5 separate regions of the Homo sapiens genome follow, and regions 1, 2, 3 and 4 are each linked to region 5. Evidence: promoter capture Hi-C in 16 types of primary human blood cells and fetal thymus (Javierre and others, 2016). All regions are on one chromosome and are shown on one strand. The core of a region is centred on a gene start or on the middle of the fragment in contact, and the rest is flanking DNA. Distances in the headings are between cores, read along the strand shown.

Evidence for each region. Contacts are between HindIII fragments. The CHiCAGO score rates a contact against its expected background, and 5 or more counts as called.
Region 1: a contact is called between a fragment that was not itself captured here and the fragment with the promoter of CHRNA10 in region 5, in 1 of 17 cell types (total B cells). The highest score is 5.1, in total B cells.
Region 2: a fragment that was not itself captured here is called in contact with the fragment with the promoter of CHRNA10 in region 5 in 2 of 17 cell types (total B cells and total CD4 T cells); the score reaches 6.5 in total B cells.
Region 3: a fragment that was not itself captured here is called in contact with the fragment with the promoter of CHRNA10 in region 5 in 2 of 17 cell types (activated CD4 T cells and non-activated CD4 T cells); the score reaches 8.6 in activated CD4 T cells.
Region 4: a fragment that was not itself captured here is called in contact with the fragment with the promoter of CHRNA10 in region 5 in 2 of 17 cell types (non-activated CD4 T cells and total CD8 T cells); the score reaches 6.0 in non-activated CD4 T cells.

The regions. Positions count from the first base shown.
Region 1 is chr11:4,050,959-4,053,658 of GRCh38, reverse strand. The region is part of intron 3 of STIM1 (stromal interaction molecule 1); the gene reads right to left. Among named protein-coding and RNA genes, the nearest start is that of RRM1, 42 kb to the left of the region's middle. The HindIII fragment of the contact is 4,973 bases long and covers 1-2,700 here.
Region 2 is chr11:4,145,756-4,148,455 of GRCh38, reverse strand. It overlaps the pseudogene OR55B1P. Among named protein-coding and RNA genes, the nearest start is that of LINC02749, 40 kb to the left of the region's middle. The HindIII fragment of the contact is 2,302 bases long and covers 277-2,578 here.
Region 3 is chr11:4,071,239-4,073,938 of GRCh38, reverse strand. The region is part of intron 6 of STIM1 (stromal interaction molecule 1); the gene reads right to left. Among named protein-coding and RNA genes, the nearest start is that of RRM1, 22 kb to the left of the region's middle. RefSeq lists an enhancer at 926-1,220. The HindIII fragment of the contact is 802 bases long and covers 983-1,784 here.
Region 4 is chr11:4,124,511-4,127,210 of GRCh38, reverse strand. RRM1 (ribonucleotide reductase catalytic subunit M1) reads right to left here. Exons shown (of 19, transcript NM_001033.5): 13 at 378-527; 14 at 1-176. Among named protein-coding and RNA genes, the nearest start is that of RRM1, 31 kb to the right of the region's middle. The HindIII fragment of the contact is 4,129 bases long and covers 1-2,700 here.
Region 5 is chr11:3,670,106-3,672,805 of GRCh38, reverse strand. It overlaps CHRNA10 (cholinergic receptor nicotinic alpha 10 subunit), which reads left to right and starts at 1,422. Exons shown (of 5, transcript NM_020402.4): 1 at 1,422-1,554. The coding sequence starts at 1,494. The HindIII fragment of the contact is 7,798 bases long and covers 1-2,700 here.

The DNA.
Region 1 (2,700 bases), core at 68-2,567, 380 kb before region 5:
GGTGTGCTGCACCCATTAACTTGTCATTTACATTAGGTATATCTCCTAATGCTATCTCTCCCCCTTCCCCCCACCCCACAACAGGCCTCAGTGTGTGATGTTCCCCTTCCTGTGTCCAAGTGTTCTCACTGTTCAATTCCCACCTATGAGTGAGAACATGCGGTGTTTGGTTTTTTGTTCTTGCGATATTTTGCTGAGAATGATGGTTTCCAGCTTCATCCATGTCCCTACAAAGGACATGAATTCATCCTTTTTTATGGCTGCATAGTATTCCATGGTGTATATGTGCCACATCTTCTTAATCCAATCTATCGTTGATGGACATTTGGGTTGGTTCCAAGTCTTTGCTATTTTGAATAGTGCTGCAATAAACACACGTGTGCATGTGTCTTTATAGCAGCATGATTTATAATCCTTTGGGTATATACCCAGTAATGGGATGGCTGGGTCAAATGGTATTTCTAGTTCTAGATCCTTGAGGAATCACCACACTGTCTTCCACAATGGTTAAACTAGTTTACAGTCCCACCAACAGTGTAAAAGGGTTCCTATTTCTCCACGTCCTCTCCAGCACCTGTTGTTTCCTGACTTTTTAATGATCACCATTCTAACTGGTGTGAGATGGTATCTCATTGCGGTTTTGATTTGCATTTCTCTGATGGCCAGTGACGATGAGCATTTTTCCATGTGTCTGTTGGCTGCATAAATGTCTTCTTTTGAGAAGTGTCTGTTCATATCCTTCGCCTACTTTTTGATGGGGTTTTTTCTTGTAACTTTGTTTGAGTTCTTTGTAGATTCTGGATATTAGCCCTTTGTCAGATGAGTATATTGCAAAACTTTTCTCCCATTCTGTAGGTTGCCTGTTCACTCTGATGGTAGTTTCTTCTGCTGAGCAGAAGCTCTTTAGTTTAATTAGACTCCATTTGTCCATTTTGGCTTTTGTTGCCATTGCTTTTGGTGTTTTAGACATGAAGTCCTTGCCCATGCCTATGTCCTGAATGGTATTGCCTAGGTTTTCTTCTAGGGTTTTCATGGTTTTAGGTCTAACATGTAAGTTTTTAATCCATCTTGAATTAATTTTTGTATAAGGTGTAAGGAAGGGATCCAGTTTCAGCTTTCTACATATGGCTAGCCAGTTTTCCCAACACCATTTATTAAATAGGGAATCCTTTCCCCATTTCTTGTTTTTGTCAGGTTTGTCAAAGATCAGATGGTTACAGATGTGTGGTATTATTTCTGAGGGCTCTGTTCTGCTCCATTGGTCTAGATCTCTGTTTTGGTACCGGTACCATGCTGTTTTGGTTACTGTAGCCTTGTAGTATAGTTTGAAGTCAGGTAGCATGATGCCTCCAGCTTTGTTCTTTTGGCTTAGGCTCTTTTTTGGTTCCATATGAACTTTAAAGTAGTTTTTTCCAATTCTGTGAAAAAATTCATTGGTAGCTTGATGGGCATGGCACTGAATCTATAAATTACCTTGGGCAATATGGCCATTTTCACGATATTGATTTTTCCTATCCATGAGCATGGAATGTTCTTCCATTTGTTTGTGTCCTCTTTTATCTCATTGAGCAGTGGTTTGTAGTTCTCCTTGAAGAGGTGCTTCACATCCCTTGTAAGTTGGATTCCTAGGTATTTTATTCTCTTTGAAGCAATTGTGAATGGGAGTTCACTCATGATTTGGCTCTCTGTTTGTCTGTTCTTGATGTATAGGAATGCTTATGATTTTTGCACATTGATTTTGTATCCTGAGACTTTGCTGAAGTTGCTTATCAGCTTAAGGAGATTTTGGGCTGAGACGATGGGGTTTTCTAAACATACAATCATGTCATCTGCAAACAGGGACAATTAGCCAGGTGTGGTGGTGCACACCTAGAGTCCCAGCTCCTCAGGAGGCTGAGGTGGGAGGATCACTTGAGCCTGGGAGATTGAGCCTGCAGAGAGCCATGATCACGCCACTGCACTCTAGCCTGAGTGACGGAGTGAGACTGTTGCAAAACAGATAAAAAAAGATAATTTATGGCCAGGCAGTGGTTCATGACTGTAATCCCAGCACTTTGGGAGGCGAAGGCAGGTGGATCATCTGACCTCAAGAGTTCAAGACCATCCTGGCCAACATGGTGAAACCTCGTCTCTATTAAAAACACAGAAATTAGCCAGGCGTGGTGGTGCATGCCTGTAGTCCCAGCTACTCGGGAGGCTGAGGCAGGAAAATCGCTTGAACTCGGGAAGCAGAGGTTGCAGTGAGCCGAGATTGCGTCACTGCACTCCAGCCTGAGTGACAGAGCAATACTCCATCTCAAAAAAAAAAAAAAGACAATTTACCATTAAAGTGTTTTGATTCTATATTTATATTTTGGAAATAAGCTAAAAGTAAAAAGCAAAAGTTTATTCTGTATCATCTAGATATATAAGAATACAGGCTCTCAACTTCAGTGCTCATGTTGCATTTGTGTTTATAAGTGTGTTGATGCAAAATAGTTACAGTGACACCGTTCACCTTTAAACAATGCAGGTTTTAACTTCCTGGGTCCATTTATACATGAATTTTATACATGGATTTTTTTTTCAATAAAAGGTATACTGAGTGTGCCTGCTTCTCCCACCTCCCTTCCTACCTTCTCTATCTTTTCTGCCTCTGCCACCCCTGAGACAGCAAGACTAATCTCTCTTCTTCCTCCTCCTCCTCAGCCCACTCAATGT
Region 2 (2,700 bases), core at 178-2,677, 480 kb before region 5:
GAACCATGTCTGGCAGGTAGCAAGTACTGAATAAATGCTAACTCTTCATATTGCTGCTGAGATTCAGAATGCTTGAAGTGACCAGGCGCAGTGGCTCATGCCTGGGAGGCTGAGGCAAGAGGGCTGCTTGAGTCCAGGAGTTCAAAAACAGCCTGGGCAAAATAGCAAGACCCTACCTCTTAAAAAAAAAAAAAAAAAAAGCTTGAAGACTGTTGAATGCTGCCTAGTTTGTGGAGTATCAGGTATGTAGAACAGTCCTGGCCCCTGGCCAAAGCTTTGAAACAACTGCTGTAAGATCCCAATTAAATGTTCAGCCTCCTATTGTCTTCTTCCTGTTCCTCATGCACCTACTCAACAAGCAATTCTCAAGCCTGTCCTGCGCCTCTATGGTGACTCTGTGCTTGGAGCTCCAGTGAGCCCACCAGAAGCATGCTATTATCCCTGCCCTCCTGGAACCTACATTCTGAAAGGAAAGCAAACTCATCATCCATGACACTGAGGACAAGGCCAGGCAGCAGGCACCACAGCCAATCTACGAGGACTTAGGAAGGAAGCAGTCTCTGCAGCCTGTTTCTTGTGATCCAGGAAGACCAGAATTCTTCCTCAGCAACTTCCATCTCTCCTTGCCACAGTGTGTCCCAAGCACACAAGTGATGCCATCATTCCCGGCTGGTTCTTCTCTCCCTGTTAAGCCCCACTTGGGCCTTCCCAGACTCCTTGGATCAAAGATTCTTCTAATACTTTCTCTTCCTCTGAATCAAGAGTCTTCTTTTAACCTTTCTTGTTTTGTCTCTGGCTGTCACTCTTTTTCCCCTGTGTATACTACACCTACTTCTCCTCCTAATCTTTTACTGAGCAAATATCTGGAACATTACAAGTAAACAAGTATCTTGTAAGTTTACATTTACATTTCACACACATGAGGCCAAGAGCTCCCTGAGGACAAAGATTGTTACCTACAAAGATTGTAGGTAACTGTGTAGTTCCTACAACACCCGGCTTAGTACTTATCTGTGCCCCAAAGGAATACATACATGAAGAAGTAGGCTTTTATCACAAATTCCTCAGTGTCTACAACAGAAAAAGTCTTTTTAAAATTGACCATTTTGTTCTAACAGTCTCTGATCCCCACTCTTGGTGCCGGCCCAGGGCCAAAGCTAATGGGTGAGGATGGAAATACAAGCACCTTCAACATCTCCTGCACCAAGTTCTTCCTGGTGGGTTTCCCTGGACTTCGAGAGTGGTGGCCCCTTCTGGTCCTGCCTCTTGTCTTCCTCTTTGTGACCATCATCTCTGCCAATGCCCTGGTCATCCACACAGTGGTTGCCCGGCAAAATCTGCATCAGCCTACGTGTATGCTCATCACTGTGCTCCTGGCTGTCAATATTCGTGCTGCCACAGCCGTGATGCCTAAAATGCTGGAGGGCTTTGTATATTATGCTAACCCCATATCGCTGCATGGCCGCCTGGCCTAGGTGTTCTTTATCTACTTCACCCTCCTCCTGGACTACAACTTCCTCTGGCCATGGCCCTGGACTGCTACGTAGCCATCTGCCACCCACTCTGCTATTCTGACCTGATGACCTCCCAGCTGCTGGGACTGCTGGCCATTCTTGCCTTGACACAGAGCCTGGGAGTGACAGTGCCCTTGGTAGTACTAACTGCAAAAGCCCGATTCTGCCGGACAGCAGTGATTCGACACTTCACCTGTGAGTGCATTGCACTGCTGAGCATAGCTTGTGGAGACCTGACCTTCAACAACTGGCTGGGGCTGGCTATGTGTTTGGTCACTGTAATCTCTGATATGGCCCTGCTGGGGACCTCCTACACCCACATCATCTATGCTGCCTTCCGGATCTCTTCTTGGGGAGCCCAAGCCAAGGCCTTACACACGTGTGGCTCCCACCTACTGGTCATCCTCTCCATCTACGTCTCTGGTCTTTCCACTTCCATCACCTTCTGAGTAGCCAAGACTGTGTCCCAGAATGTCCAGAATCTACTCAGTGCCATATACTTGCTGCTTCCAGGAGCCTTGAATCCTGTCATTTATGGGGTGAGGACTAGGGAGATCCAGCAACATGTAGAAAAGATGCTCTGTGAAAAGGAAACAGCCCAGAAGGCTGGGGAGAAGCCAAAGAGGCTGCAGAACATGAGACTGGAAACCGCCAGGGTGAGGGACTTTACTACCTTCGAAAGTTGGGGCTATGATCTCTGAGAAGAGATAAGCAGGCAGTACTCAGGGACAGGCTCAAATTTCCTCAGCAGATTACGGGCTCAACAGCAGGTTCCCTGTTGGTCAACTGTTGCTTGTTAAATTCTTAGAATGCTCTTTGTTTTCACCCCCAGTAATAAAATTGCATTTACCTATTTATCCTTCTTGGTTTATTTTCTCTGTCCTCCTCCCAACTCCTGAGGAAGTCCCAACTAATATCTGGATGTATGGGGCTTCACTAAGGTAGTCTTATAGAGCAAGTCATACAGACCACAACCTGCCCTGTCTGAACAACACCCAGTCTGAAACAAATAAACAGGCGGGCACTTCCCTGAAGCCCAGTCTCTCCCAAACATAGCCTAAGCTTGACATGAAGTTTATTCAGACCTAATACACAGGTCATCCTTGAGGCTTCCAGTCTAATCCAGGTAGCAGGCTGGGTTCTAGAGTCCAGTCAGTCCCAAACACAAGTGAGGTCCTTTCCTGAG
Region 3 (2,700 bases), core at 134-2,633, 400 kb before region 5:
GGATTAGGGAAGATGAGGAGGAACTATTGAGCTAGGAGTCCTCTTGGACTCCTGAGCTTCTGTTCCCAGAAGCACAAAACAAATTAAATTTATGCCAAAGGACTCAGGAGAGTCCCCTGCTGCCCCCAGGCCCTGAGTTCCTTTCCTAAGTATCTTCCTTAGTGGATAAGATCTCAAGGGCATGAGTTATAATGTAAGTCTACCCTTGCACCGTCACACACATTCCCTCAGTTCACCGACAAAACCTTCCATCCAGCTAAACAAGCCTTCCCGCTTCTTCACTTCTTTCCTCCACACGGCTATCTATGTTAATACACTCATTCATTCATCTATTCATTCACCGAGTTCTTTCAAGTGCCTACTAAGTGCCAAGCCCTGTGCTAAGCCCTAAATACGTGGCGATAAATCAGAAAGCTCTCCCTGCCACTGAGGAGCTCATGATTTACTCCAACAAAGACAAGTAGACAGATAACTGTATTCAGTGTGACAAATTCTATAATAGAAAGAGATAGATATAGATATATAAGGTCTTGGGTCTTCCCAAAAGATGGAGTCATCAGCTCTGCCTGAAAGGAGTCAGGGAAAGAAAGAGAGACTTGGGCTACACCCAGAACAAAGACTGAGAGTTTGCTAATCCCTTTGGAAGAGAAAACGGACTTTACTGTCTGGTCTTCCTTTCTAAGTAAAAACCACCAGGTTACCAGGGGACCAGATTAGGAAGGAGAAAGGATGGTGAAGAAGAGATAAGATATATAGCTTAGACTTGAGGTATAGAAAAGAAAGGATAGACTACAGAACAAGAAGGACCCCTAGAGAACACTGACCACTGAGATAATTAAGTAGATGAAACAAACAGAACTCAATCTGTAAAAAAAAAAAAAAAAAAAAAACCTCTAAGTCCAGAGCTATCAGTGGCGGAGACTTCAAAAGACATCATGGAACAAGCAAGGAGGTAAGAAGAGGAAATGTTAGGCTGCAAGCTTCCCGCAAATTGTGATCTGCCTAATTTGTCCCTGAAGAGAAAGGGAGTTGAACCCCCTGAAAATGAACACCAGATGGCGATATATGCATAGGCAAAGACAAATCAGAGGCGCCATTTCCTGCCATCTCCTTCCCTTGCTGAATATCCTCCTTTACTGTACTCTTCCATGACCCAACTATATAAAGTTACACCATTAAGGATTCACTTCTTCACTGAAATACTGTCCTTTTATGAAAGCAGCCTCTTGAGAAAAGCCAATACTATGATATGTCTGTCCTTTATAATAATAGCGAGCTCCTTTAAAGTAGAATCAAGACTGACACCCTTTCATAGTTCCAATAAGGTCTGTTAGAGATGGAGAACAATAATCATTGTTGGGTGTAGAAATGAGCAAATAAGTATACAATTAAGCACTGCCCCACTCCAAGGCAACAACAATTAGCATTGCAATTAGTCCTGGCTCTAAGCAGTTGTGTGACTATGAGCAAGTTTTGCCTGTTTTGGGAATCAAAATTCCTGCCTGCCTCAAATAATTATCTTGAAACTCAATGAAATCCTAACTGGACTGTATATGTAGAATTATATTTATTCACATAAATTATCAGGAACTCTGTAATAAAGCTCTGTGAAAGCTGGCATTGCAGGTCTGTTAATACAAGGAGGAACCAGGTGGCATGTGGGCTCTGGACACTCAGAGGAGGATATATGTGTGCATGTGTGCAAGCCTATCTCTAGGGGGAAAAGGGGAGGGGTGTCTTTGTCTCTTTCTAAGTGCCACAGTGGTCATTTAGCTCTGGAAGCTTTAGGGAGCAGGGAGTGCTGGGAGCTTAGTTTTATCCCCAAACTTGGAATGTCTCCTGCCTAGATTCTTTTGCCTTTGGAATGGAAACAGTACATGTTTTTCAAACAAATGAGGTATGGGGACTGCTCAGACAGCAGCAGTTAGCTCCTAACTGGCAAAGGGCCCAAGAACAAGGGGCCCAGCAAAGTAGCCAGGAATCAGCTTAGAGATCAGACCCCTCTTGCTCCCTAGAAGCCCAGCCCATGGAAATAAATCCAATAAGTCTGCTACCTCAGTAGAGGCAGCACCCTGGAGTGTCAAAATTCCTAGTTCACTACTTACTGATATATGACCCTGAACAAAGCACTTACCCTCTCTGAGCCTTCATTTCCCCAACTCTAATAGTACCTACTTCAAAGGGCCATAGTGATTAAAAGTAATAATGCATTTAAGTATTTAACAATACCTGGCTCACAAGAAGTCTTGTCCCTACCCCTCCAAATTAAATAGTGTTTACCATTTAAAAATAACACAATGGCTGGGCACAGTGGCTCAGGCCTGTAATCCCAGCACTTTGGGAGGCTGAGGTAGACCTCTTGAGTCCAGGAGTTCAGGAAAAGCCTGGGCAACACAGCAAGACCCCTGTCTCTACAAAAAATAAAAAAATTAGCCAGGCATGGTGGCATGCACCCAGCTACACAGGAGGCTGAAGCAGGAGGATCTCTTGAGCCCAGGGGGTGGAGGCTGCAGTGAGCCATGTTCATGCTATTGAACTTCAGCCTGGGCAACAGAGCAAGACCCAGAGTCAAAATAATAATAATAATAATAAATAGAAATAAATGAAAAGACAAGACTTCATTTCCTTTTACATGAATTCCTGCAAAGACTTCCCAACTAGAGTCCCTAGGCTTCCAGAATCATTTTCTAAAAGACAGTC
Region 4 (2,700 bases), core at 43-2,542, 450 kb before region 5:
TCCTTGGCAAGGTCACAGCTGGCTTCCAGAGCACCATAATAAATAGTTTCAAAGATCTGCTTATTCAGTAACTGGGCTTCTGCACTCTCAAAAGGGTATCTCATCAGGATAAAAGCATCTGCCAGACCTTGTACCCCAATTCCAATGGGGCGATGGCGTTTATTTGATAGGCATGCCTTTGTGTCAACAGATTTTAAAGAAAAGGAGAAAACATTACTGAACAGGAAAAGCAACATTCTGTACCAAATGAGACAGACTACCTCTTTTTCTCAAACCATTTTATTGATAACCATTTAAATGATGACTTGAAGATCATGATTGATTCCTTTCAATTTGGATTTCAATAATTACCAATAAGCAGAGAAATCTATTCATACCTCTGGTACAGGATAGTAGTTTATATCAATAATTTTATTCAAGTTTCGGACAACGACTTTAGTGACTTCAGCCAACTTCTTAAAGTCGTATGTGTGTTCTGATGTGACATACATATTCAGGGCCAGGGAAGCCAAATTACAAACAGCAACCTGGAATGCAAAAAACAGGTCAAGAATCACACAATTTTTATTTCTACTTCCTGTGTCAATTACACCACCATGTGAGCCTCTAATACTCAGACATTAAAATTTTAAATTTTTATATTTGACTTCTCCCTCTTCATCATTCATCAGTCCATTTCTAAATCCCACTGATTCTATTTCTTCAATACCTAGTCATATGTGTTAGTTATAACATGCATCAGCAAAATAGGTAAGAGAGAGAGAGAACCCTATGTTCCACAGTACACAGCTCTATTACCAGACATATATCACACTATGTTATAATTAGCTTTTTACATATACCTATCTCATTATTCAGTAGATGAGTGCCCTGCAATATGGTAGCCACTGGCTACATATATCTATTTAAAATGAAATAAAATTTGAGTTTCTCAGTTGCACTAGTCATATTTCAAGTGCTCAATAGCCATCAGATACAGAACATTTCCATCACTGCAGAGTTCTTCAAAACACACACGTCCACCTCACCTTCACTGATATTCTGACAAGCCCTTAGCAACAATGGATCTCAATTTGTGATTTCTGAAAAAGCTCTTCCAGTGATTTCTCCACTACACGAGGCAGTGAGCTTCTTCACACAAGGATCATCTTATTTATATTTATATGTTTAGCACTAGCAACACATCTGGCACACAGTAAGTCTTGATAATGTTGAATGAATACACTTTCTTTTCCATTTTGATTATGACTATCCCAAGCCAAAGTCTTAACTTCTCTCACATGGACTACTGAAAGTTTCCCAGTTGAACTCTTGATGCCCTTCACATCTACTCCATTCTACACATGTTGCCAAATACCCATTTTTTTAAATATAGCTTGAATCACAGAAGTCTAATAAATGCCAGGAAGAAAAATAGGCAGGAAAAGAAGACAGAGAGTACTGGGGATAAAGATGAAGGGGGTATAATTTTTAAACAGAATTGTCAAGAAGGACCTCATTGAAAATGTTACATATGAACAAAGAACTGAACAGGTTAGAAAGCAAATCATGTGGCTATGGGAAGAGGGGGTGCATTTTAACATTCAAGAGGGAAGAAGGAGCAAAAATCCTGAGGTAGGAGCATGGTTGACATGTTTGAGAAAAAGCAAGAAAATTAATAGGGTTGGAGCAAAGTGAACAAAGGGGAAAGTAACCGCAGATGAGGTGGGTTATCCAGTTGTGTAGGACCTTGTAGGGCACTGTAAGAACTCTGGATGGAAAGGAATGAAGTACTGATACATGCTACAACATGAATAAAAGAACATGTTAAGTGAAAGAAGCCTGACACAAAAGGCCACATATTATATGACTCCATTCCTATGGAATGTCCACAATGTCCACAAATCTAGAGACAGAAAATATATTAGTGGTTGTCAAGGGCTGAGGGAAGAAGGGAACAGGGAGTGACTGCTAATGGATAAAGGGTTTCATTATCTACAGTGATAAAAATGTACTACAGGCCGGTCACGGTGGCTCACGCCTGTAATCCCAACACTTTGGGAGGCTGAGGTGGGCGGATCACGAGGTCAAGAGATTGAGACCATCCTGGCCAACATAGTGAAACCTCGTCCCTACTAAAAATACAAAAATTAGCTGGGTGTGGTGGCACGCGCCTGTAGTCCCAGCTACTCGGGAGGCTGAGGCAGGAGAATCGCTTGAATCCAGGAGGCGGAGGTTGCAGTGAGCCGAGATCGAGCCACTACACTCCAGCCTGGTGACAGAGCAAGACTCTGTCTCAAAAAAAAAAAAATAAAATAAATAAATACTACAATTAGATAGTGGTAATGGTTGCACAGACTTGCAGATATACTAAAAAAAAGAAAAGAAAAGAAAAGAAAAAAAACACTGAATTGTACATTTTAAAAAGAGTGAATTATAGCTCAATTTGCAAAAAGAAAGAACTCTGTTGAGGTTGCAGTGAGCCACAGCCCAGCTTGGGCAACAGAGTGAAATCTTGACGCCCCCCGAAAAAAAAGGAATTCTGCATGGGTTAGCAAGCCAAAGAGTAGTTTTGTGCAGACAAATGACATTATCTGATTTTTATTTTAAAAATGTCACTCTAGCCTCTATAATATAATCTGTCTTGCATAATAGTTACCTCAATATATGTCGATGTCTTCCAACTAAATTAGAAGTTTCCAGAGGGCAGCATATTTATTT
Region 5 (2,700 bases), core at 173-2,672:
TACCTGGGAGAGGGGACGGGTGGAGAAAGTGCAGGGAATCACTGGCATATCCACGATGCCCAAAGTCATGGCTATGGATGTGATTGCCAGGGAAGTATGTGCTGCTGTTGGTCAGGCAACTGGTCAGCTTGAACAAAAATAATCAAAACTCTGTGCATGATAAATACCTGTGACCTGAGGATAGCCTGGCTACCTTACTGGGACCACAGTGTAAATATTGTTGATGACCTGCTGTACCTTAGGCACCGTGCTAGACAGTGCCTTGCACTATCAGGTTATCTCATTTAAATCCTTGCAGTTTTCAAGATGAGTACTGTTAATCCCATTACCAGATTGAGAGAACAGAAACCCAGAGAGTTTAAATATCTTACCCAAGTGAGAGCGCTCATAAGACAGGGCCGAAAGTGACTGAATGCTTGCCCTCTTCTCCCACACTGCCCACAGTGTTTGGGCAAGGTGAAAAAACAGGCTCAGATGGGAATGACTGCAGGGAGTCTGAGGAGAGGATGTGGGCTCCATCTTCTGCTCCACTGGGTCATCTGGAGTGGCCTGAGGCTCAGCACTACTCCCACCAGGAGGGAAGGGCTTGCTTGACCCAAAGTGCCTAGCCTGGAGTGTCTAGTCCCGCACTGCAAGGAGAGCTGCAGGTCTAAGGCAAACCTCCACCTCCAGAATTCAGGCAATGGTGGCTAAGATGAGAGGACAGTTATCCATCCACTGACCCTGGCCCCTCACACTCTTAAGCCCTGGTCTTCCACATACCCTGACCCAGCATACCTGTACTCTCCAACACCCGAGGATGGGCCTGAGCTGAGTCTGTGTGCTGCTTTACAGAGTTTGAATAATTCAAGCCCCAGAGGCCCGAGGTATCAGTTTCCGTTGCTCTGTTGTCATAGGCACGGTGTAATTAAGCTAATGAAAGGGCAGAGAGGGAGGGGCTGTGGTCCTGTGCCTCGGACGACTCTGGGCTGATCAAGGGAGGAGTCCCTGGTCCCTGTTCTGCTGAGAGAGCAGCAGGCCCATCTAGAGTCCAGGTGTGGGGAATGGAAGAAGGAAGGAATGAGGGATGAAACAGAAGTAGGAGAAAGGGAGAGAGAGTGGAAAGAGGCAGGCAGGGGATGATCAGAGTCAGGGAGGCAGAGAGACCAAGAAAGTTACAGACGGAAAGAGAAGGAAGCAGAAACAGAGTGAAAGACAAAGCAGGTGGGGAGCATAGGAAAGGGCAGAGGCAGAGGCCAGAAGAGGCAAGGACCAGCAGAGAAGAAGAAAGACCAAGTACTAAAATCCAGGGGCAGGCACAAATTGGAGGGTCAGAAGACTGGAGGGGCTGCAGGGCTCGCTGGAGGGTGGCTGGACCCACCAGAGATCTGTCTTACTTCTGACTTCTAGGTACTGTCCACACCATCCTTGCCAGCTGGGCCTAATTTTGCCCTAGGTCTGGCCAGGAGGCCTCACATCCAGAGACCTGCCCCCGCTCTTGCAGTGCCAGGGCCATGGGGCTCCGGAGCCACCACCTCAGCCTGGGCCTTCTGCTTCTGTTTCTACTCCCTGCAGGTATGAAGCTCAGTACACCAGCCCTGGCCTCTCCTGGTGGTGCTACTATTCCTGTTCTCCCAAAATCCCTTTCCATGTAGTCTCTCTTGTGTTTCTCCTCAGTACCTGTTCTGAGAACAAGCTCTCTATTTGGGGAGTGTGGAGGAGAGGGGTGCTGAAGTGCGTGAGAGGAGACTTGCCTGGCTAGGGTGGAAACAGTGAGCGGGGAGCTTCCAGAGACAGGGCTGGGAAAATCAGAGGGGCCAGATGTTGAAGGGCCTGCCGGCCAGGCCAGGTCTTTCTCCTGCAGATGACGGGGAGCACTGAAAGGTTTCAGCAGCATACTAGCCTGGTCAGATGTGCATGCTTAAAAGCGTGGTCCTGGGGCATGGGAGGGGTAGAAGAAGGTGAGCCTTTGGGGAAAGGGAGACAGTGAAGGGAGGGCCCTGACCTGGAGGGGAGAGGGTAGACTCAAGACGATGTTTCGCAAAATCTGGAGGATTTGAATGATCTGACAGGATCTGGAGATTAACTGGATTCCCCGAGGAGGAGGCAGCAGAGGGAGAAGGGAGGGATAATTCCCAGATTTCCAACTAAGGTCACTGTTGAAGCTGAGGGCATGCTATTTGCTGAGATAGGGAACATGGGATAGGAAGCAGGTTTCAGAGCATGGAGGGAGGAAGCGAGTTCATATTTTGGACCCTCAGAGTTGAAGGTGCCTGTGGGAAACTCAGGAGTGGACTGTACTCTATTGGGGTCTGGAGCTCAGGAGAAAAATCTGGGATGAAGAAAAAGATGGGAGCCAAGGACAGGATTCATGGGAACAATGTTTAGGTCAGGGATTGAGGAAAATTTGTGTCAGTAAAGCCTGGGGAAGTGTGTTTTCAGAGTGAGGGAGTGTTCCATCGCATCAGAAGTTTTGAAGAAACCAGCTCGAGATGGAGAAGTGGAAACAGGTTTGAGAGATACTGGAGGGGGCAGAGCAGTGGGGTTTAGAATCCCTGGGTGAAAGTCTGGACTCTTGTGGCTTATTTGGGCCCCTCTAGCATTTGTGGAGAGGCAGGCAGACTCCAGGTCCTTGAAAAGGGGAGGGTGGAGGAGAAATTTGTCAGCCTGGCGCCAGAAGATAGTACCAGTTCACTCCATGGCCTTTACCTCATGTGTCCC